Regions from separate parts of the Homo sapiens genome. Here all the other regions are linked to region 5. Evidence: promoter capture Hi-C in 16 types of primary human blood cells and fetal thymus (Javierre and others, 2016). All regions are on one chromosome and are shown on one strand. The core of a region is centred on a gene start or on the middle of the fragment in contact, and the rest is flanking DNA. Distances in the headings are between cores, read along the strand shown. Region 1 has its middle 110 kb from the start of FSTL4. Region 2 has its middle 87 kb from the start of FSTL4. Region 3 has its middle 56 kb from the start of WSPAR. Region 4 has its middle 32 kb from the start of WSPAR. Region 5 holds the start of CTB-3M24.3 (a long non-coding RNA gene). Region 6 has its middle 58 kb from the start of FSTL4.

What was found. The method cuts DNA at HindIII sites, captures the fragments that hold promoters and counts their contacts. A CHiCAGO score of 5 or more calls a contact.
Region 1: a fragment that was not itself captured here is called in contact with the fragment with the promoter of CTB-3M24.3 in region 5 in 3 of 17 cell types (endothelial precursors, erythroblasts and M1 macrophages); the score reaches 7.9 in endothelial precursors.
Region 2: a contact is called between a fragment that was not itself captured here and the fragment with the promoter of CTB-3M24.3 in region 5, in 1 of 17 cell types (endothelial precursors). The highest score is 5.4, in endothelial precursors.
Region 3: a contact is called between a fragment that was not itself captured here and the fragment with the promoter of CTB-3M24.3 in region 5, in 4 of 17 cell types (endothelial precursors, total CD8 T cells, naive CD8 T cells and 1 more). The highest score is 13.2, in endothelial precursors.
Region 4: a contact is called between a fragment that was not itself captured here and the fragment with the promoter of CTB-3M24.3 in region 5, in 4 of 17 cell types (endothelial precursors, M1 macrophages, M2 macrophages and 1 more). The highest score is 9.6, in endothelial precursors.
Region 6: a contact is called between a fragment that was not itself captured here and the fragment with the promoter of CTB-3M24.3 in region 5, in 1 of 17 cell types (endothelial precursors). The highest score is 5.1, in endothelial precursors.

The regions. Positions count from the first base shown.
Region 1 is chr5:133,718,364-133,722,203 of GRCh38, forward strand. It overlaps a transcript of FSTL4 not described here and the pseudogene LOC101060035. Among named protein-coding and RNA genes, the nearest start is that of FSTL4, 110 kb to the left of the region's middle. The HindIII fragment of the contact is 987 bases long and covers 1,623-2,609 here.
Region 2 is chr5:133,697,397-133,701,221 of GRCh38, forward strand. It overlaps a transcript of FSTL4 not described here. Among named protein-coding and RNA genes, the nearest start is that of FSTL4, 87 kb to the left of the region's middle. The HindIII fragment of the contact is 1,308 bases long and covers 873-2,180 here.
Region 3 is chr5:133,855,424-133,858,978 of GRCh38, forward strand. No RefSeq gene overlaps it. Among named protein-coding and RNA genes, the nearest start is that of WSPAR, 56 kb to the right of the region's middle. The HindIII fragment of the contact is 3,387 bases long and covers 536-3,555 here.
Region 4 is chr5:133,879,735-133,883,433 of GRCh38, forward strand. No RefSeq gene overlaps it. Among named protein-coding and RNA genes, the nearest start is that of WSPAR, 32 kb to the right of the region's middle. The HindIII fragment of the contact is 2,563 bases long and covers 471-3,033 here.
Region 5 is chr5:133,386,096-133,389,753 of GRCh38, forward strand. CTB-3M24.3 (a long non-coding RNA gene) reads left to right here and starts at 1,787. Exons shown (of 3, transcript XR_948794.4): 1 at 1,787-1,875; 2 at 2,378-2,484. All of the region lies in intron 4 of FSTL4 (follistatin like 4), which reads right to left. The HindIII fragment of the contact is 3,410 bases long and covers 199-3,608 here.
Region 6 is chr5:133,668,271-133,671,977 of GRCh38, forward strand. It overlaps a transcript of FSTL4 not described here. Among named protein-coding and RNA genes, the nearest start is that of FSTL4, 58 kb to the left of the region's middle. The HindIII fragment of the contact is 7,771 bases long and covers 1-3,707 here.

The sequences.
Region 1 (3,840 bases), core at 866-3,365, 330 kb after region 5:
ACACTGCGCTTAGCCAGTATTCTTTTCATTGTAGCTACTCTAAAGAGTATGTAGTGGTCTCTCCTTGTGGCTTTATTTTTACTCATGCATAGGTCTTCACACACTACACACATGTAATTTATTGTATAATGTCTGAATGTTCCAAACTTTAGAGTTTAAATACATATACTCATGCAAGTTTATTTTCTAATGTCTTATTTTGACGTAGAAAATTTTATTCTTGATTGACAAAGAAAGCATTTAATTACCTGACAGGGAGAAGAGGGAAAAAGGAAATAGAGAAAGGGAAATATGATGATGTCATAACATCATTTTTATTAATTGTCTTCAACCACATTTTGATTTTACAGATTTGGCCTCTGAGTGATTTTGGATTTCTATGTGACAGCCCTAACGGCCACAGATTTTCACATAATTAGCAAGCATTTACTCTTGTGACTTGATTATTACCTCCTATTCAAGTAAATGTATTACTGCCATTGAAACCATGTACATACCAATAAGCTATTTGCTGTTCAGTTTTAGTTCTTTTTAATTGCTAAATGTAAAGAATAAGCAACATATATTCTACAAGCTATATTAGTTCAAAATATATAAATAAAATGTAATCCAAAATAAGTCATTTAACTTTATGATAGATATAAAAATATTTTGGGGGGAAAACCTGGATGACTGCTTCACTTTTGAATTTTTGGTTTTATACATATAGTGAAAGTAATCTTCTGTTTTTGAATATCTCTTATGCTTTGGCTACATTTACAAGTCAGAGTAGTAATTATTCTTACTTACAAATCCAATCTGACACTGCTAAGAGTTGGACTTAAGAAAAAGCTGCTAAATTACATGCTTAGTACACACATTTGAAGTAAAAAGTTTCAGTGATTCTGTAAAGGATCCCTTAAAATTATTTAAATGAGTTCTTACTTGAACTGTACACAGAATATTAAATATATAGAAAAATAAATCTTTAAGGGGTCTACAGTCTGCTATGGCCAATAATAATACATTATAAAAGTCCATTTGAGGCCAGGCGCGATGGCTCACACCTGCAATCCCAGCACTTTGGGAGGCCAAGGCAGGTGGATCACCTGAGGTCGGGAGTTCGAAACCAGACTAACCACCATGGGGAAACCCCATCTCTACTAAAAATACAAAAAAAATTAGCCAGGCGTAGTGGCACATGCCTGTAATCCCAGCTACTCAAGAGGCTGAGGCAGGAGAATTGCTTGAACCCGGGAGACAGAGGCTGCGGTGAGCCAAGATCACGCCATTGCACTCCAGCCTGGGCAACAGGAGCAAAACTCCATCTAAAAAAAAAAAAAAAAAAAAAAGTCCATTTGATTATATTAGCAATGAAATAGTTCCTTATTTATAAATATAGGCATTAATACTATATCTTAATACTCTGAAAAAGAAAAGTAGTATGCCAATTTTCAGTTATTTTTATAAAGCTCCCATGTCCTATATTACATTTAAATTGAAGATGGCAGTATTCATGAGCTTTGGAAATACAGGATAAGATTGGAGTCAAGTCTTCTGACTCTAAAGCTATTTTTCTTCCTAGAGTTGCCACTTCACTTTCTTTATGAACTTTGAAATAACCTCATGAATATCCATATTCAAGCTTCATTATGGGAGAACTGGCTTCACACGTATCCACAAAGATTTCTAATTTAAGTTTAATGACCATAGAATTGGAGATAGGTGTATAACAGGCCTATAACTTTAGCAGCAAGAAATATCATCTGTTAGATCAGAAACTTAGTAACTATAAAGGAATGCAATGATACTGTTACCCACTAAAAAAGGAGATGCTCATAGTAGGAAAAAGAAAATTCTCATTTTGTATCAAGGAGAAAATGAAATAATAAAGTCCTTTGGAATGCACTAAATATAATTTGTAATTCAAGTTCTTTTTGTGGCAACCTGTAAATACAAACTATCAATACATGTAAATAACTAAATTAGTTTTCTATTAATCTGAGGTGGACTTTGCTTGACAATCATATTTTCATTGAAAATGATAGGGCTAACAACAATAGAATGTATTCCCTTGAATTGTCAAAGCTCAGATGGCCTCTCCTCACCATGTCCAAATACACAGGACAAGGATTCCAAGTAGTGAAGAATTTTACCAATAATGAAGAAGTTCTGTAATTAGTGAACATGTATCACAAGAAAATAGGTTAACTTCCTCTGCTTCATCCTTGGAAACACTGTGTTTTCTACCACATTGGCTACTTGGGGAAAAAGAGTCATCATCTTTTTTCCAAGGCACTTTTTCAAGGTATAGTTGAGCATCTACTGGTTCCATATTTCTTAGATCATCTTCATGCCACTGAGGATCATACTCTTTTTTTCTCTTCATTCCCTAGAATTTTCCACGCCTGATCAATTTCAATGAATTTCTGTATACAGTCCTCCACTATTCCTGCTGGCACATCTGTACTTTGTTAATCTGAATGCTGCTTTAATGTAAGTTTTTTATACTTTTGTTTTAGGTTTGACACATTTGGGTGTGCCCCCAAAAATGCTATACCAATTATTTTTTGGCATCAGCTCAAATGCCATTATCCATTGAATAAGAACTGGGCCTTCTCAGATGAGCAAGCTTCATCTAGCAGTCACCAGTGCCCACTCTTTGCCTGCCACTGGCCAGAACTCGAAACCAGCTTCTCCTCTCTGTGGTTTTAATTTGCATTTTCCTAGTGATTAATCCTGTTGAACATCTTTTTATGTGTTTGTTAGCCACTCACATATTTATTGTGTGTGAAACAATTGCTCAAATACCTTTTGCCCATCTTTTTTACCCTCTACCCACAACAATTTGTTTTTGATGTCACAATTTACATATTTTTATATTGTATATTCTTTAACAACTCATCGTAGCTTTATTTATTTTTGATGACTTTTTGACTTTTAACTTTCATAATAGAAATTTATATGATTTATACACCAGCGGTATTATAGTTTTCTGGATCTGGCTACACATTTACCTCTACCAGTGAGTTTTATACTTTCATATATATTCATGATGGTAATTATTGTCCTTTTATTCCCACTTTAAGAACTCTCTTAAGCATTTCTTGTAGGGCAGTACTAGTGGTGATGAATTCCTTCAGCTTTTCCTTATTTGGGAAAGACTTTACTTCTCCTTCATTTCTGAAGGACAGCTTTGCTGGGTATAGTATTCTTGACTGACAGTCTTTTTTTTCCTTTAGCACTTTGAATATATCATCCCATTCTATACTGGCCTGTAAGGTTTCTGCTAAGAAATATACTGATAGTTTAATGTAGGTTCTCTTATATGTGACTTGGTGTTTTCCTCTTGCTGCTTTTAAAATTCTCCCTTTGTCTTTAACTTTTGACAATTTGATTTTGTGTCTTGGAGAGGACCTCTTTGGGCTATATCTATCTGGGAACCTTTGAGCATCATGAATTTGGATGTTCATATCGCTCTGAAAACCTAAGAAGTTTTCAGTAATTATTTTATTAAATAAGTTTTGTGTCCCTTTCTCTGTCTCTTCTCCTGTAACTCCCATAATGCAAATACTTGTTTGCTTAATGGTATCTCATAAGTCCCATAGACTGTCTTCACTGTTTTTCATTCTTTTTTCTTCTCTGACTCAGTGATTTCAAAAGACCTATCTTCAGGTTCACAGATTATTTCTTCTGCTTGATCAAATCTGCTGTTGAAGCTCTCTATTGCAGGGATCCCCAACCCCTGGGCCACAGACCAGTACCAGTCCATGGCCTATTGGGAACCCAGCCACATAGCAGGAGGTGAGTGAGTAGTACGTCCTGAGCTCCACCTCCTGTCAGATCAGCAGGGACATTAGA
Region 2 (3,825 bases), core at 277-2,776, 310 kb after region 5:
TCCTCCCCCTGCCCCAGACCATGCTGACCTCTTCCCAATGACAAATATACACATTCATCCTCTCTGTCTTGGAAGCAATGGAAAAGACAGTCTCTACCCCACCTTCTCCATTTGCATGAATTTCCCAAGAAAACCCAAGACACATCAACAGCTAATGAGGAGTGAAAACTGAAGCCCCACTTGCTAGAATCTCTTTATTTTTAAGAGGCTGAATTTATAAAGTCAATCTGAAATGGGCCCCTTCTGGTATGACAGAAAGCTCCATGTAGATGGCAGGCTTCAGCAGTCCCCTCTGCAGGCTCTGGCCCTCAGAGGCAGGGGAAAGTGAGGGCCCGTTGCCATGGCCCAAGGAAGGGTCACCACTTTCCCAACCTCACGTGAGACTATCCACCAGCATGGCCTGGCAAAATCAGCAAGGTGCCAGGACCCGTTGCAATTCTCAACAGATAATTTCCTGCTGGAGGGCACGTGCCCGCTGTACTCCCCCAGTGTCTGTCCCTGTCACCAGGGGAAGTACCCCCAAAAAGATAGCTCCCATAGATGAGGGCTTATCTCCAAGTCTTTATCCTCAATAGAACAGCTTTATTTCTACTTGGGTTCTAGCATTTTCTGGAGGGCAGATTCTTTTTTCCCAATTCAATTCCATGAGGATTTATTAAGCATCACTGTGAATGTGTGGCTTTCATAAAAGAAACCAGAGCAAGCTTCCTCTGACCCCTGACTATCAAAGTCAAAGCCACAGGGAGGAAGCAACTACTTCATACCCTTACTTAACAACCCACACCCTGCTCGCGTCGAAAAATCATTCAGGCAGCAGCAAGCAGCACCCCCAGAGACAGGAGGAAAAGATCCAGAAGCCAGGGGCTGCCAGAAGCTTCCAGAGATGGCAGGAGAGCATCTGTACTGAGGGCTGAGCCTCACCAGACAGACTCCAGGGAAAGAAGGAAGGACAGACAGACAGGGACAGTCATTGTGGCAATGAAGAGTACAGTGTGAATCACAGACCTGAGTCCAAATCCCAACTCTGCCACTTATCAGCCAGGTGACCTTGGTGGGGTGGGTGGGGAGCACTGTCTCTGTCAGCCTCCATTTGCTCTTCTGTCAAACATGATGGAGCCGTTGTGACTATTACATGCGATAATGCATGATGATTACGTGCAATAATGTGTGACCATTACATGCGATAATGCGTGACCATTACATGCAATAATGCATGACTATTACAAGTGATAATGCGTGTAACGTGCTTGGCACAGCATCTGCAAAGATACAGGGCTCCATACATGGGAGATGCTTTCCCTGTTAGGTAAGTGAGGAGATCTCAGGACCGTCCTAAAAGGCTCCTTGAGAATCTGGAGCTCTCAAGCGTCTCACAGCAATGGCCAAAGTCCCCTCTGGGCTGGAAGGGCTGACAGCTACAAAATACAACGAGACCTCGGGAGGCCGGGCAGTGGTTCTGTGAGACCTGGTGGGTTTCCCTCAAAGGAGACAGACCCACGGCTCTCAGGTACACCACCTTTGCTTTCTATTCAGAGAAGCAAATTTATTCCTGAAGCCACAGTATGAACTGCTCTGACCTGTCGCTTATAGGATGACAGTGACAAGCCAATGCCTTGAGGGACAGCATCTCAATACAGCCAGAAGGAGAGGCAGTCAATGGTGTCCTGGAGGTCAGGGCCCACTACAACCCAGGCCTCTGGACTCCAGCCCTCTCACCAGCCCCTCCTTTCTGAGGGCAGAGTATGACATTTAAAACAGCTAAGAGGAAGGAAGGTGCCCTCACCATGAGACTTGGTATGATGTCACTTAGGCTCACCAGTGTCCACACAGGGCCTGAGGAATCTGTGCTAGATTCCACTTGCTTCAGCCAGTCAGGCCATTTGGAGCTGGGAAGCCAGGAGGAAACAAAACTAGCCAGAATCAGCATCTGCCTAAAAACCAGGCACTCCCCCTCTGCTATAAGGACCATTTGCATCAAAAACCACCCCGAGGAAACTCCACCTGCTCAGAAATGAGTACTTACTACACACCGAGAACTGTGCTTACCTCAGCTAACCCTCACAACTGCTCTACGAGGTTGGTGTTAGTGTTTTGATTTTATTCATAAAGAAATGGAGGCTCAGAAGAGTTAGGTACTTCCCCAGGGAGTAGTGCTAGTCTGTTTTCACTGTATAACCAAAAGCTTCAAAAACCCCAGTGCCATGGCCGGGCGCGGTGGCTCACGCCTGTAATCCCAGCACTTTGGGAGGCCAAGGCGGGAGGATCACGAGGTCAGGAGATCGAGACCATCCTGTCTAACACGGTGAAACCTCGTCTCTACTAAAAATACAAAAAATTAGCCAGGTGCAGTGGCGGGCACCTGTAGTCCCAGCTACTCGGGAGGCTGAGGCAGGAGAATGGCGTGAACCCGGGAGGTGGAGCTTCCAGTGAGCCGAGATAGCGCCACTGTAGTCAGGCCTGGGTGAAAGAGTGAGACTCCATCTCAAAAAAAAAAAAAAAAAAAAACAACCCAGTGCCTTACACAACATTCATTCTTCCAGGTCTGCAGGTTGGCTACAATTTAGCTAATCTAGCCTGGGCTCGGTTGTACCAGACTCAACTCCAGACTTCTTGTCAGATTCACATTTGCCCGCGGTCTTCATTCAGGCCCCTGCTGCAGGATCAACAGCCAGGTGGGATGAGCTTCCTCAACCACACATCGAGTAGCATCAGAGAGCAAGCCACACCAAACCACCACACCAAAACATCACACTGAACCACCACACTGAACCACCACACCAAACCATCACACCAAACCACCACACCAAACCATCACACAAAGTCACCACACCAAACCACCACACCAAACCATCACACAAAGCCACCACACCAAACCATCACACCAAGCCACACACCAAACCACCACACCAAAACATCACACCAAAACATCACACCAGACCACCACACCAAACCATCACACCAAAGCACCACACCAAACCACCACACCAAACACCACACCAAACCATCAGACCAAAGCACCACACCAAACCATCACACCAAACACCACACCAAACCATCACACCAAGCCACCACACCAAACCACCACACCAAAAGTTTCTGCTCACGACAGGTCTGCTCATCCTCCAACAGGCAAGGTGAGTGTGCCTGATGGGGCAGGTGCTCTGCCTATGCCAAGGGCACAGATGTATCACTGTATTCCGGGATGGAGTGCAGCCCCAGGAATGATACCCAAACCTACTGCAAACAGCCCCCAAGGGGCAGAGCCAAAAGAGGTGAACCCAGGCAGCTCATTCTCATTACTGCTCTGCCATCCCAACCACCATGTGACCTCTCAGGGCCTCGGGTTTCTCATCCACTCAGGGGGTAACACATGACCTACCTCACTGGGCTTTCTAAGGCTTAAATGGAGTGTGAAGATGAGTCTTTGAAGGGACCCAGGTATACATTTAGAAAGAAGTTATTCCCGGCCTTCATTTGGAAGTTCCATAGGACTCCAAATCTTCCATGCACAGATAATGTCGAATGACAAAAAGGCAGAACTGCCCCCACGGACTTGAGAAGGACGGGCCTCTCTCTGCTCATTCAGACGCAGGCGGAAAATTAGGTCCATTTTGTGTAGATAAGAAATGACAGTGTCTTTATCATAATTTTGACAACTGTCCAGGGTTGACCAGGTTGACTGCCCCAGGGGGACATTCCATATTGAATAGAAAAACCAGGTGAGAGCCAGGCATGGTGGCTCATGCATGTAAACCCAGCATTTTGGGAGGCCAAGGCAGGCAGATCACTTGAGGTCAGGAGTTCAACAGCAGCCTTGCCAACATA
Region 3 (3,555 bases), core at 979-3,478, 470 kb after region 5:
CTTTATCTGCATTCTCATTGCTTTGTGGCTGCATTCAAATTCCCCAGTGTGGTAAGGCCAGGCTCTCACTATCCTCCTAGCTGTTCTTCCCTCCTAGCCCAGGAGGAGGGAGAGGTTAATTGGTTTTACTCACCATCTGTCTGTGTTGTAAACACATCTGAGCAGAGTTCACAATCTCCCTCTCCAAGGAACGGATTGCATCAGTCCCAGAGATTGGTCAGATGATGGTATATTCCAACCATGGAATACTACGCAGCCATGCATAAATGGTGCAGTGGGACAATGTTTAAGACTTGGAGAAATGTTTAAAAAGCAGCATACACAACAATATTTATAGTAAAATCTCAATCTTCTTCAAAATTGGGTACATTTATAAATATACACATATACCTATAATAATGAAGCGATATGCACTAAAAAATTAATACTAATCTGCAGATTATTTAAAATTTCTTCTTTGTGCTTCCCTGGATCTTCCAACATTTATATATTGAACATTTTTGCTTTGGGAAATTTTTATTTTTAAAAATGTAAAAGCTTGGGAGGATTTAAAGAAAAACTGCCTAGAGCAATGGTTCTCAGATTTTATCCACATCAGAATCACCTGGAGGATTCATTAAAACACAGATTTCTGGGCCCCGTGCCTGGAGTTTCTAACTCTGGATCTGGGTGGGAAAGCCTGAAAATTTGCACATCTAACACGTTCCAGGTGGGGCTGATGCGGCTGGTCCAGATCCTTTGAAAACCACTGTCCTAGAAGCTCCCAGCAGATGGCATTTAGGAAGAAGGCAACAGCACCGTGCTGAATCAATGATGGGGAAATACCTCCTCACTCCTGCAGGAAGCCATCAACCTTCTAGGGATCCCTGAGCTTTTTCCCACGTGGACAATGCGCAATAGACACCACTTGTGTCCCTGACTTGTGTCCAGAGGACACTGCTGCCCTCTCCTTTTCCCAGAATGGGCCCTTCAAGACCCATTCGCCTTGAACTTTTTTGGACACTGCTCTGTCCTGCCACTGTGCCCTGGGGTCCAAAGAGATGCTACAGGAGAGATGAAGGGCAGGTCAAGGAAGCTGCCAAGCTGTGAGCTTCTAAGGGCCCAGGAAAGCCCCACACAGAGATAGCCAAACACAGAAATCCAATGTCAGCGCATGCTCCTACGCATCAGGGAAGGACTCCTCATCCTGTGGCCCCATGTTTCCAGGACACTCTTCCTTAAATAGCAAACTCTCCTGAGCCCATGCCTTCATTCCTTACTTTCAGTTATCTGTCTTGTGCCTGGCTTGTCATCCTATCTAGCCGGACAGAGAAGAAACCAATTATGGCAGTGCAGGGAGGCCCATCCTAGGACCGAGGTGTACATGAGGGCCATCAGCACACCAAGGAGGGCCATTCAAATGGTCTGAGGACAGCAAAAGTGTTTAAATAATGTAGGCTCAAGAAAGCAAGACAGCAAAATGGTTAAGAAGGTGGGCTCTGAGCTCACCCAGGGCTGGATTCAAACCCCAGCTCTATCTTTTACTAGCTTAACCTCTCTGGACTACAGCTATCCCACCTGTAAAGTGGGTGGGTAAGCAGTTTCTAAAATGATCCCCAATGATCTCTGCCTGCTGTATTCACACCCCGATGGAAACCCCTCCCCTTGAGTTGAGTGTGGTTGAATCTAGCCACTGGCTTCTAATAAATAGAGTATGGTAGAAATGATAGAATGTCGCTCTTTTATTTTCTTTTTTTTTTTACTGGTTTTTTTTTTTTTTTTTTAGTATTTATTGATCATTCTTGGGTGTTTCTCGGAGAGGGGGATGTGGCAGGGTCATAGGATAATAGTGGAGAGAAGGTCAGCAGATAAACACGTGAACAAAAGTCTCTGGTTTTCCTAGGCAAAGGTCCCTGCGGCCTTCTGCAGTGTTTGTGTCCCTGGGTACTTGAGATTAGGGAGTGGTATGACTCTTAACGAGCATGCTGCCTTCAAGCATCTGTTTAACAAAGCACATCTTGCACCGCCCTTAATCCATTTAACCCTGAGTTGACACAGCACATGTTTCAGAGAGCCCGGGGTGGGGGTAAGGTTATAGATTAACAGCATCCCAAGGCAGAAGAATTTTTCTTAGTACAGAACAAAATGGAGTCTCCTATGTCTACTTCTTTCTACACAGACACAGTAACAATCTGATCTCTCTTTCTTTTCCCCACATTTCCCCCTTTTCTTTTCGACATAACCGCCATCGTCATCATGGCCGGTTCTCGATGGTCGCTGTCTCCTCGGAGCTGTTGGGTACACCTGTAGAAAGTCTGTCACTTCGCACTTGGAAGATTGCACAGCGGCCAGGCAGAGGCGCTCCTCACATCCCAGATGGGGTGGCGGCCAGGCAGAGGCAATCCTCACATCCCAGACGGGGCGGCCGGGCAGAGGTGCTCCCCACTTCCCAGACGGGGCGGCTGGGCAGAGGCGCTCCTCACTTCCCAGACAGGGCAGCCGGGCAGAGGCGCTCCCCACTTCCCAGCGGGGCGGCTGGGCAGAGATGCTTCTCACTTCCCAGACAGGGCAGCTGCTGGGCAGAGGCACTCCTCACTTCCCAGACGGGGCGGCTGGGCAGAGGCGCTCCTCACTTCTCAGACGGGGCGGCCGGGCAGAGGCGCTCCTGACTTCCCAGACGATGGGCAGCCAGTCAGAGGTGCTCCTCACTTCCTAGACGGGGCGGCCAGGCAGAGACGCTCCTCACATCCCAGATGGGGTGGCGGCCGGGCAGAGGCGCTCTCCACCTCCCAGACGGGGTGGCCGGGCAGAGGCGCTCCTCACTTCCCAGACAGGGCGGCGGCCAGGCAGAGACGCTCCTCACCTCCCAGACGGGGTGGCGGCTGGGCAGAGGCGCTCCTCACTTCCCAGACGGGGCAGCCGGGCAGAGGCGCTCCTCACATCCCAGACGATGGGCGGCCGGGCAGAGGCACTCCTCACATCCCAGATGACGGGTGGCCAGGCAGAGACGCTCCTCACTTCCTAGACGGGGTGGCAGCTGGGCAGAGGCTGTAATCTTAGCACTTTGGGAGCCTAAGGCAGGCGGCTGGGAGGTGGAGGTTGTAGGGAGCCGAGATCATGCCACTGCACTCCAGCCTAGGCAACATTTGTGCATTGAGTGAGCGAGACTCCGTCTGCAATCCCAGCACCTTGGGAGGCAGAGGCGGGCAGATCACTCGAGGTCAGGAGCTGGAGACCAGCCCAGCCAACACGGCGAAACCCCATCTCCACCAAAAATACAAAAACCAGTCAGGCGTGGTGGCGCATGACTGCAATCCCAGGCACTCGGCAGGCCCAGGCAGGAGAATCACGGGAGCCCGAGGCAGGGAGGTGCAGCGAGCCGAGATCACGGCAGTACAGTCCAGCCTCGGCAACAGAGGGAGACCACAGAAAGAAAGAAAGGGAGAGAGGGAGGGAGGGAGGGAGGGAGGAAGGGAGGGAGGAAGGGAGGAAGAAAGGAAGGAAGGAAGACTCTTTTATTTTCTTTTGAGACAGGGTCTTGCTCTGTTGCCCAGGCTGGAGTGCAGTGACATGATC
Region 4 (3,699 bases), core at 502-3,001, 490 kb after region 5:
GGAATGAAGTCAGGAACCCTTGCTCTTGTGGAGCTTCTAGGGAGTGCAAAAGGAAGGACTGGGAAAAAGTCCCAAAGGGTGGCTGGAATTTGGCAGACATAGAAGAATGAGGGGTTGTTCTGGGTCAAGAACAGCCCTTGGTGGGTTGCAAACTATGCGAGCCTGTGTTCTTAGACATAGACACAGGAGAGAGGGCTGCTGTTGGTAAGCCTCCCTCAGCCCAGCAACGGCTTCAGACCAGACCCTGAGAACGGTGGCAGAGATCATGAGTGGCTGGGGGTGTCTTTGGGGCCACAGCTCTATCAGTGCCCCCACTCTTGATAGGACAGTTGCCCATGTTTCCCTGCACATGTGAAGCGCCACACAAACATAGCTAGTCCTCTAGCTCCGTCCTTGCACAGACCCTTGCCCTGAGCCTCTCCTTCCCATGGAGGAACTCTAGAGCTACAGGTAGGGAACCACTGCCCCAAAGCTTGGCCAGCAAGAGGAGAAGCCTGGACTTGGTCTCGAGAGCTGTTATCTCAACCTCAGCTCATGGAACCTCGTGAGGATCTAACAGAAGTGGGACCTTTCCCTAAGGTTGGGCCATTCTGCTGAGGCATTCAAGGTTTTAATGATCACTGTCCTGAGAGTCACGGAATCCAGCTCAATGCCTGCCTCCTCCAGGAAGCCCTCCTGGACTTACCCCTCTTGTGAACACCTATCATACTTTCTTATAGCTGGTGTGTTCACATCCTCTCACCTCCTCAACTGTACCATGGAGGTATTTCTATTTTCTTTTTTTGTTTGTTTGTTTGTTTTTGAGATGGAGTCTCACTCTGTCACCCAGGCTGGAGTGCAGTGGTGCGATCTCGGCTCGCTGCAAGCTCCGCCTCCCAGGTTCACGCCATTCTCCTGCCTCAGCCTCCCAAATAGCTGGGACTACAGGCACCCGCCACCACGCCCGGCTGATTTTTTGTATTTTTAGTAGAGACGGGGTTTCACCATGTTAGCCAGGATGGTCTCAATCTCCTGACCTCGTGACCCTCCTGCCTAAGCCTCCCAAAGTGCTGGGATTACAGGTGTGAGCCACCATGCCCAGCTGGTATTTCTATTTTCTAGGAAAATGTGTGTTGTACATTCCCAGCTCTCGACCCACTCTGGTCACTGAGACCCTGGCCTTCTCCTGGAGCTTGACAAAATAACACACCAACCAAAATCTTCCCCCAGAGAATCCCACTGTAGGGCAGAATCAGACACTTCCTCAGTCCCCATCTCCTTCTGCTTTAAGTGTGTGACAGTCACCAAGTTATGCACTGTAGCCTTTTCCTTTTCAACACCAAGGGGCACTTCCTTCTGTACTACAAATAGTCGTTCCCCACTAAGAGTCAGTGGTCCTGGGACTCATAAACTTCAGGTCATTACTAACCAATGTGTGTCTTTCCTCGGGGCTATAATCTTTCCAATAAGCCATGGCTGGGCTGCAGTTCCCTCAAAGATTAATGTGCATGCCAATGCTAATGCATTCACCAATTGTCCTGTCTCAGAAGGCGTCACACATACACACACACACACACACACACACACACACACACACATACACACACAGCTCTAGGGCTGGCTGGTCTCTCATCCTTCCTGCACACCACACCACCTCGGAAGGTGATGTGGCCAGGCTCTTCCCTCCCTCTTCAAAGTCTGGAAACGGACTGTGCAAGCCAACAGATGCTTGTGCTGCACCCAGACTGCCCTTGACTTCAATGCCCTCCCCAAATACCAAATGTCAATTTCCCAAGCTGATGGGGGCACAGAAGTGGGGGCAGGGCTCATCCCCTCACTGAGGAATTTCCTCAGAAAGAATGATCACTCTTGCCATTTCCCTGCTCAGAAATCTGGCCCAGCCTCCTGTGGCTTTTAGGATAAGGACTCACAGCTCAACAGCCCCAGGGGCCTCCGTGAAGGTGAGCTGTACCCCACTGGCCTGGCCTCCCAGCCTCAGCCCCAAGGAAGCCGTTAGCTCCCTCAAGGCACCCAGCTCTTCCCTTCTTGTGGTTTCCCCCACTCCCAGCTCCCCTCCTGGAACTCCCCTCTCCCTGCCGCCTGCACATGGCCAACTACTTCCCAGGTCCAGTGTGAGCATGCCCTCCGCTGCCAAGGCTTCCCTGCTTCCTGAGTAATCCTAGTTTACTTTTCTTCTGTAAGAGGCAATAACACACAGTGCTGGACAGCAGGGGATCTGGAGTCAGACTTCCTGGTTCAAATCCCGGTCTGTTGCTCACCTGCTTGTGGACCGTGGATAAGCTGCTTAATCGCTCTCTACCTGTATCCTCGTCTTAAAGCAAAGCTAATCCATAGAGTTGCTATGAAGATAAAAGGACAATGTCGTCCCCTCTAAATGTTTTGAATTGTGTGGGGCACGCAGCGAATAACCAGTGTCAGCTGTTGTTATCATTACCATCACTTCTAATCTCGCATCACTCTCCTTCTTTTGCCTGCCCAGCCCTTCTCGCACGTGGTGGCTGCGCATCTACTTGGTGGTGATTTGTTGACTGCTGGGATGTCAGCTCCAAGATGAACAGAACCTGAAGCCTGGCATGGTGCCTGGCATGCACAGGTGCTCTGTAATTAACACCTGTTGATTAAAAATCATCATCACTGGCTCTTCTGACTTTAAGCGTCACTGTCCTGGTGGAAGAGGGCTGTAGAGGAGAGAAGTGGTCAGGATAGATGCCGAGTGATGCGCTGAAGCCCCCACCGGGGACACAGATGGACAGGGCACCCTGGGAGCCGCTCTGCGGGCAGCTGGTGAAGCCAGTGCCTAATCAGGCTGCCCAGGCCTGTGGCCCAGCTCTGCCTCTCCTTCCTGTGTGGCCCTGGACAGGTTTTCTAAACTTTCTGACCCTCTGTTTCTCCACTCATAAAACTCCAGTGGGAGGCCAAGGCAGGAGGACTGCTTGAGCCCAGGAGTTTAAGGACTGCTTGGGCAACATAACAAGACCCTGTCTCTTAAAAATAAAAATAAAACACACACACACAAACAAACTCCAGCAGAAAAGCTTTGGTATCTAGTTGAGGCAGCATCCTCTACAGGAAGGGCAGAGAAAGGCCGGCCCCTCTTTCTGCCTGCTTCTGGCATGGCTCCTGGCTGTCCCCAGCATCTGCATTGCCATCTGTAGAGTATGTAAATCCATACAATTAATACTCTTCATAATCTTACCGCAACCATTTTTCTTCACGAATGTGTTCAGTTTCAGGAAACGCGGCATGTCCTGGAGGCACATTTACATTTCATTATCTCTAAAAGCTTAACTACCGTGACTAATGCTGGATTAATAAGCAGCCCCTTCGAACGTCGAACTACTTTAAACACCACCACTTACGCAGTCTCACTGGTGGTGGAAGAGGGTGCTTTCAAACAGCCGCTGTGGCTGAGAAGGGGTCAGTCCAGGAAGCTAAGCAGGTCTAATTTCTGGATCTCCCTTGAGAGACTTTATATTATTCTATCCAAGCAATTAAATCTCAGCCAAAGCTATCAATTTCCCGATGAGCCTGGGACTGAAAGAAAGTCCAGGTGGAGTCCATGTGGGTCACCTGGAGTGTTCCCAATCCCCGCACCAAGGGAGAACCCTGACTGGCCTGGACTCCAAGCACAACACCTAGCTATGAGGCTGTGTGTGCTAAGCACCAGGACCAGACAATGCTCATTTGCAGCTGGAAACC
Region 5 (3,658 bases), core at 537-3,036:
AAGTTAGGGGTAATAACAGTCCTTACCCTGAAGGGCTGTCACAGAATTAAAGAACAGAAAGTGCACAGAATGCTCAGCCTTGGACCTGGCATGTCACATGGGCTCTTTGAGTTAGTTGTTACCCTGCCCTCCATTCTCATCCAATCTCTGGTTTTTTAAAAAGGGTAGGATGTGTAAAATCACAATCATTTGCTGCAAAGCTTGATGATTATAATCACAGCCAGCAGAGTCTCCGTGGGGCTATAGCCACAGGAATCCTGGTGGTGCCTTCACTCAAGTTCTTTCCTTCCCAGCCTTCTAGACAGGCACGCTCAACTGTGCATCTTGTTTTGTGCCAACTGTTTCTCTAAATTAGTATATGGGCTTCTGTCAGCATGTTTTACAGAGAGAAACCACATTTCTCAGCAGTGGACTTTGCCTTCCTTTTGTATAGATTCCCCATTTCTTCAGGTCTTCCTGATACCCACAGTTGTTTACCCTGAGAACCACAAAAGTTTTTAATATGGAAAGTTTGTTCCTTTAAAATTGCTAGGAGAATGTTTATTGAGACAAGCCTGGCACATAAACGAGATCTTCATGTCACTGAAATTTGGCAGGGGGCAGAGGTGGGGACACTGGCGAGAAGGAACCCAGGCAGAAGTGGAGAGACAGAAAGGTGTGACCGAGAAATATGGACGTTTTTCTTCCTGTGCAACGAAGCCCTCACCCTGTGTTTCACGTGGCATTGGCGGGGACTTTCTTCCTTTGTAATGTGCTCACTGGGGTTGTCACGTCACATAGCCACGTGGAGACAGCCACTGAAGTTCAAAGACAAGATGGGTGTAAATGTGATTCATTTCATTAAAACAACTGGATATACAATATTTGATGTCTGCGGTAACTCTAACTTCTCCTCATTTCCCTTTAGGGGAGTGAGAGTTTTTAGGTACCTGCTGTCTGATCAGTTGCAAGTGCCAAGTCTGGTGGAGGAGGAAGGAATGCAGCCATAACATCAGCAAAGCTGCATGAAGTCTTTCCCTCTGCTGCTGCCCCTGCCCTGTACCTGGTTGTTCATGTCCCACCCACCCACTCTTCCAGGTTCAGGTCAAGCCCCACTCCCTGACAAATATCTCTCCTAATCATGGGAGTGGCCACTGACACACACTGAAAGGGGATGGGCAGGTGCCAGTACTGGTGCCGTCATTTACAAGTCCAGTAACTGGGAAAGTTATCTGGCTTCTCTTTGCCTCTCAGTAAACACCAACTAGGAAAAGGAGTGCATGAGATGACGTCCATACAGCCCCTGGCGGTGGGCTGGCAGCCTGGCACATTCTCCGTGAATGAGAATGTGTATTTCCCATGATCCTATCCACCCCACCCTGATGGCCATTCCTTCTTTTCTGCAAGGCTGTGTCCCATGGTGGCCCTTTATTGCCTTGGGGGTTGAACTTCTACCTCTATCTCTTAACAGGGCAGCTCTTCTACCTTCTTTGCCTTTTCTTGGCAACAGAATTTGGCTCTTATGCATTTCTCTCTAATTGGTTAATCACATTGTATTGACTGCAACATTAGAACCAATAGTTCAGGCCTTCCCAATTGTCCTGACCATGTCACTGGCATACTGACACACGCCCATGAACAAAGGCTTCATCACACAAGGAAGACACACTATGACCCGCTGCGGTTTTCTTCCACTTCAGTTGTAGCCCTGCATGCTTTCTGGGGAGCACACTCTAGCCACCGAGATGAAGGCACGGGGAGGCCCGACCGTAGGTCGAACACGTCAGTCAGTGGCTGATCCTTCCCATGGTCTCTGGATACACCAGTGAAGGCAGGAGGTGAAGTCTCCCAGATCACCTGGGAACAGCCATGGACACTTGTCTGGGGCTGCATGAGGTTTGTTCTGGGCTCTGATGGAATATTGCCCTCATGTATGCTTTTTAACATACCGAGTCAAGGATTATGCAGGATCTGTTGAAATTCCAATAAGTCAGTCAAGAAAATTAAGCGCACTTAACCTCATCATTTACCCTTTGCAATTTTTGGTAACTATATTTGAAAAAGTTATTTAGACACCTTCTCATTTCAAGAGCCTCTGTGCTCACCTAAGCCTTGAGTTCCTCTTTGTCAGATTCTCTGATTTCTCTGTAGAATGTGAAGGGTTCATCTTTCACTTTTTTTCCCAGCCAAGAGTACACGGATGGTGTATTATTTGAACCCTTGCCCAGCAGAAAATACTTTTTATTCTTTCCATACATGGATCACCATTTGATAAGTGTAGAATTCTTGCATCATGGTCTTACCACCCCAAAATTCTACCAATGTTCTTCATTGCCTTCTTGCTTCTTAATATCGCAGAAAAGTCCAAGAACAGAATGTTTTTTTTCCTTCCTACCAGACAGTGTCTGAGACTCACCTTTGACACAAATGTAACTGAAGGGGAGAAGCTGCCCCTGGGCAAGCCGGTCAGCTGAAACCACTCAAGAGCCCCCAGTGCAACACCAGGTAGGACTTTTTTTTTTTTTGTCTGCTTTGTTTTTCTCTCTCTGGATATTTCAGATCACTTTAATTTTTTTTTTCAAAACCTAAAATGTCAGCAATTATATTTTGACTTATTTGATAGATCTTTCAGTATAGGGCACTTATTTTTTTGGATCTCTCTTTGCTTATTGTGTCCATTTGAATTGCTCTGAGGTCTTTAAGATAACCAATCACTATTATTTTAAATCTTTTATCTCTGTCTTACATAACTATCATCCTCTCCCACAGTATTTTTTAAATCTTCTTCTCATTCTCGGTGTATTTGGGGAGCGGTTTTCAAGTTTGTTCCCTGTATTGGAACAACTATGATTTCTGTATGGTTAATCTTTCCTTTGACTGCTTGAAGTGGAGAAGGAACTTCTGCAATTGTATTTCAGGTTCTTTATATTCTTTCCTTACCTCCCCCAGCTTCCATTTTATTTTTGACTGTGGCTCAGCCAATTTACAATCCCATTTTTTATCTCATTTCAGAGTTCATGTTTTCTTGCATTGGGAGTAGAACACAGTTGCTGTCTAAAATGAGCTTCTGTTTCTTGTAATAATTTTTCCCCAAAGCATGCTCTTTTGCTGCATCTTAAGTGTGTGCTCTCCTCCTCCTCTGTTGCAGAAGCCAGCTTCCCTTTCATTCGTGTTCAGACAGGTCTGTTCAGGCTTCACCTCTGTTTACTCTCACTGCAGCCCAGTGAGATTGACCAGACTGGAATTACAGCTAAATCCATGGTCACTGCCACGACATATTGCATCTGGAGAGGGGTCTTAACTTCCCTGTAACCAGCATTCATGGCTAAACAGTTGAGAGACGCCCTTGAAAATCTGGAGTTCTGCAGGTGGGTGGGAAGGAGAACAAGCAAGCTCACTCTCTGCGGAATTAGGATGATGTGTCACTGACCCTTTCTGACACCCCTGCCCCTACCCTGGTGTCCCCTTCTGAAACCTCCTCCTTTGTCTAGGGTATTTCTTCTTTTGTAGCTTTATAAGAGACATCTTCCTCGCCCCTGCTTTCCTGTCCATCACCCACCTATCCAGAAAGGTTCTGCCCTTCATATCCTCTGATGTCTCTAATCTCGGGTTCCCCAAATCATTGGACAAGCTTGCACGGGGAAAAGACTAAAGTCTCAGCTATGAGGACTCATGCAGA
Region 6 (3,707 bases), core at 919-3,418, 280 kb after region 5:
GAAAACAGAGCTTCAGGGGTCAGGGGGTATGGGTGATTTAGAAGAAAGTCACATGGAACCAGGAAATCAGCCTCTCTCACACACTCTTGGCTGGTCAGGGGAGGGATGTAAGTAAAAATGGAGACTTATTTCACTAAATGATAGACTACCTGCAGACAGGTGTATGACAGAAGAGAGAAGTACCTTCTCAGATACCATACCATGCATCTCTATTTCCTCTACATTCTGCGAGCTGCCAGAGCGAATGGTCTGTGAGCTCAAGAGATACTCTTGGGGTATATTACAAAAACATGCAGGAAGGGCTGCAGGCCTGAGTGGCCAGCCTTGTGCTAGACCTTCTGACACTGGTTTCTGTTGCTAACATGACCTTGCTAGTAGCCAGAGATTGGCTGGGTCTGGAGACATTTGGGCCCCTTTTGGATGGCAGTTCCAGCTCTGATGCTTGCCTGGATACTGTCTTGTGACATCGTCAAGCTGGGGGTTAAGGCTGCCCATGGAGGGGTGATTTCGGGTGTGAGATCAGACGTCACCAAAACAAATGAGCCCAGGCCCATCAGGCATAGTGCATTAGATGAATTCTGAAAAATTCTGAGATGTGGAGAAATCTGATGAAATATGTCATAAGCAGAAAGGGCAAGAAATGTTTCCAAGTTTCATTCACTCTTATGAAGTGACATCTAGAAAGAAAAGGAATCAGATAAAAAGGAAAAAGCAAATTATGATATTAAAAATTCATTCCCATTTAGCAAATTTGCTATTAGCATCACAATTCAGGATATTTTAATAATTCCAGCCTCACAGAGGTAGCATAATTGGATGCTTCAATGATGGGATTTAGGGAACACCAGAAAAATCCCTTCACCAAAATCACTTCTTCAACAGCCTGAGCTCACCCACTACAGCTGGACATGCCAGGTTCTTCCCTGGCTTCTCTTCTAAAATCCACATTCCCCAAGGGGTCAGCTACGGAGACCCAGCTCTTCCTGGTGAGCAGGTGGGGCAGATGAGGGCCCCAAATCCTGAGATGGGGGGGCAAGAGGGAGCATGAGGTGGACAGTCAGGCTCCAGGCTGGCCACCCTGCACCCCGGGGGCTCATCCTCCCTGAGCACTTCTTCACAGCCTGACCAAAAGTGCTCAGGAGGGCAACATGCTCTGTGTTCTTGTCTAAATCATTGAAAACAGAAGAAGTTCACAGGAAAATGACATCCTTCAGCCAGGGAGGTGTCTTGCCAGGTTCCGGTCAGCAAGGGCTGAAGTGTGCCCTGCCCCCAGCAGCTCGGCTTGGCAGCACCAGCCTGTGGTGTGGCTGAGGACCCACCTGCCTCCTTCAGCCAGGCTCCTTGGGAGCATCTGGGACTAGCAAAGGATGCTGCTATTACGTTACCTCAAATATCCACCCTCACACACCAACTGAGAACCAAGCGAGTCCAGAGGAGATAAGCCCTGGTGGAGTCAATAATTCTGAGGCTGCGAGTGCCTCTGCCTTCTACAGCCCAGCTCAGGGAAAGTGAGTTTATTCCCAGGACCACAGATCCACCCAGCCCATGCCCTAGGCTAACCTCCCCGCACTGCAACCAGAGGGACTTCTGAAGTGCTAGGCTGAGCCTCTCTGCTCTCTAGCATAAGAGTCATTAAGAGTTTCCATGAACCTCAAGATAAAGACCCAAATCCTAGCCTGGGGTCACTAGATGCATGAGATGTGAGTCCTGCCCCTGTCTCAGGCCTCCCTCACCACATTCCCTCAAGACCCCTGTGTTTGCTACACGCTCCGCTCCCAAGATGCCCACACTGCTGTAGGACCCATGTCCTTCCCTCCGACAACACACCCTTTTCCGTCGTCAACATAGCAGTAAATCAGCTGAGAGAGAGGGATATTTGACATAAATTGTGGATGTGCCTTTCTGAGCATGAGGTGGCTATCATAAAATACATAGAAACTCCACAGTGTTTTTAATATGAATTGAACTGGTAAAAGTACTGCCAGGCTGGGCTAAAAGAAACTGAGTCTGTTCAAATTGCAAAAGGACCTCTGGATCCTTAATTTTCTATGGCCAGAAAACAGGCTGAGAAAACTACTAAGCTGTCTACATCAACCATGTCTTCAGAAGTAGCCATGGAGTGTGACACAAAGGAAAGCGTGGGCAAGGCCAAGAGCCCGGGGAGTGGAACCAAGAACTGTGGACACACTGGACTGGGGCATCATTTCCAGGGAGTAGAACAGTGGTCTAATCAAGGAATACTTTTCACCCCAGAGTTGGGGGCCCCAGCAACATTTCCACCCTGTGGGATTTCAGAATTATTATGGAGTAGTAACTAACCTGTTTCAAACAGGAGAGTTTATTGCTATTATGCTGTCCCTGTCTCATCAGCACATGCTGAGGGTGTGGGAGACAGATTACTTTGCTCTCTCATTCACTGGGTCTCCAGAACAAAAAGTGCTCCATCTGGATTTTTATGTAGATTTTATAAGATCCTGAATGTTAAGCATTAGGCCAGGATGGGATGAGACTTTGAGGGTCTTCAGAGGGAGTGAGTACATTTTGCGTGTAGAAGGATGTGAATAATTTTGATCAGAAGGCAGACTGGTATACTGGTTGTACAAATGGCTCCAATTCCATATCTACACCTTTTGGGTGTGGCTTCACATCTCTACCCATCAGGACCTGGATTCCATCTCCAGATCCTTTGAATCTGGGCTGACTATGAAATTTCTTTGGCAGATAGAATGAGGAAGAGGTGATGTTGTACCAGTTCCAAGCCTAGGCACATCAAGGCTACTATTCTTTTGCTTTCTTGGTTTCCTGCCTGCTCCATGAAAATAAGCCAATACTAGCCTGCTAAGGGGCGAGACCTTGTGAAAGACAGCCGAGGTGCCCCAGCTGATGGCAGACAGCCTCTGGGAGCAGAGTTCCCTTGATGACAGACAGCTGATAACCCAGGAATGAGACAGCCCCACCAAGACCAGAAAAACTGTCCAGATGAGCCCTGCCTAAATTGTCAAACTGCAAACAATCTATGTAAATGCTTGTCATTTAGGCCGCTCAAGTTTGGTATGGTTTGCTACACAGCACTACATAACAGATACACATGCACCATCTCTTTTAATCTTCACAACAACCAAAGAGATAGATGCTGTTATTATCCTTATTTTGTAGGTAAAACTAAAGGTTAGAGCAAGTTTCATGGGTATATAATGTTACAAATGCTTGTTCCTCAGTGCCATAAAGAAATAGCACTTGAACATAAATTTAATTTCCTCAGCAAGGCCATTTTTACTTTCTGCAGAAAGGGTACACTCGCCAGCAGTTTTGCCACAAGAGTACACCGAACAAAGGAGACAGGGTCATTTATAACCTGATGCATCCACTCTACTGCTGTGTCCGGTTTCCATTGGCTGGAATGGGACCTCACATTCTATATTTGTCCTGATTGGCTAGCAACTTAGAACATTTTAAAAGAGGCAAAGGCAGAGGAAAACAAAGGAAGGAGGAAGTAACTTGTGGAATGCTGAGAAAGGTAAAAACATGTTCAAATAAGGAAGAGGAACAGGCTATGACCTAATGCTTGCTTGGACCAGTATAAGCATGCCAGGGCAAATATTTAGGCTAAATTGTGGGGGCTAAGAACGTAAAGTACATTGATTTCTTTATTATGGCTAGCAGATATTTAAGAATGTTACCACAGGTCTTTGAATAAATTTTGCTTC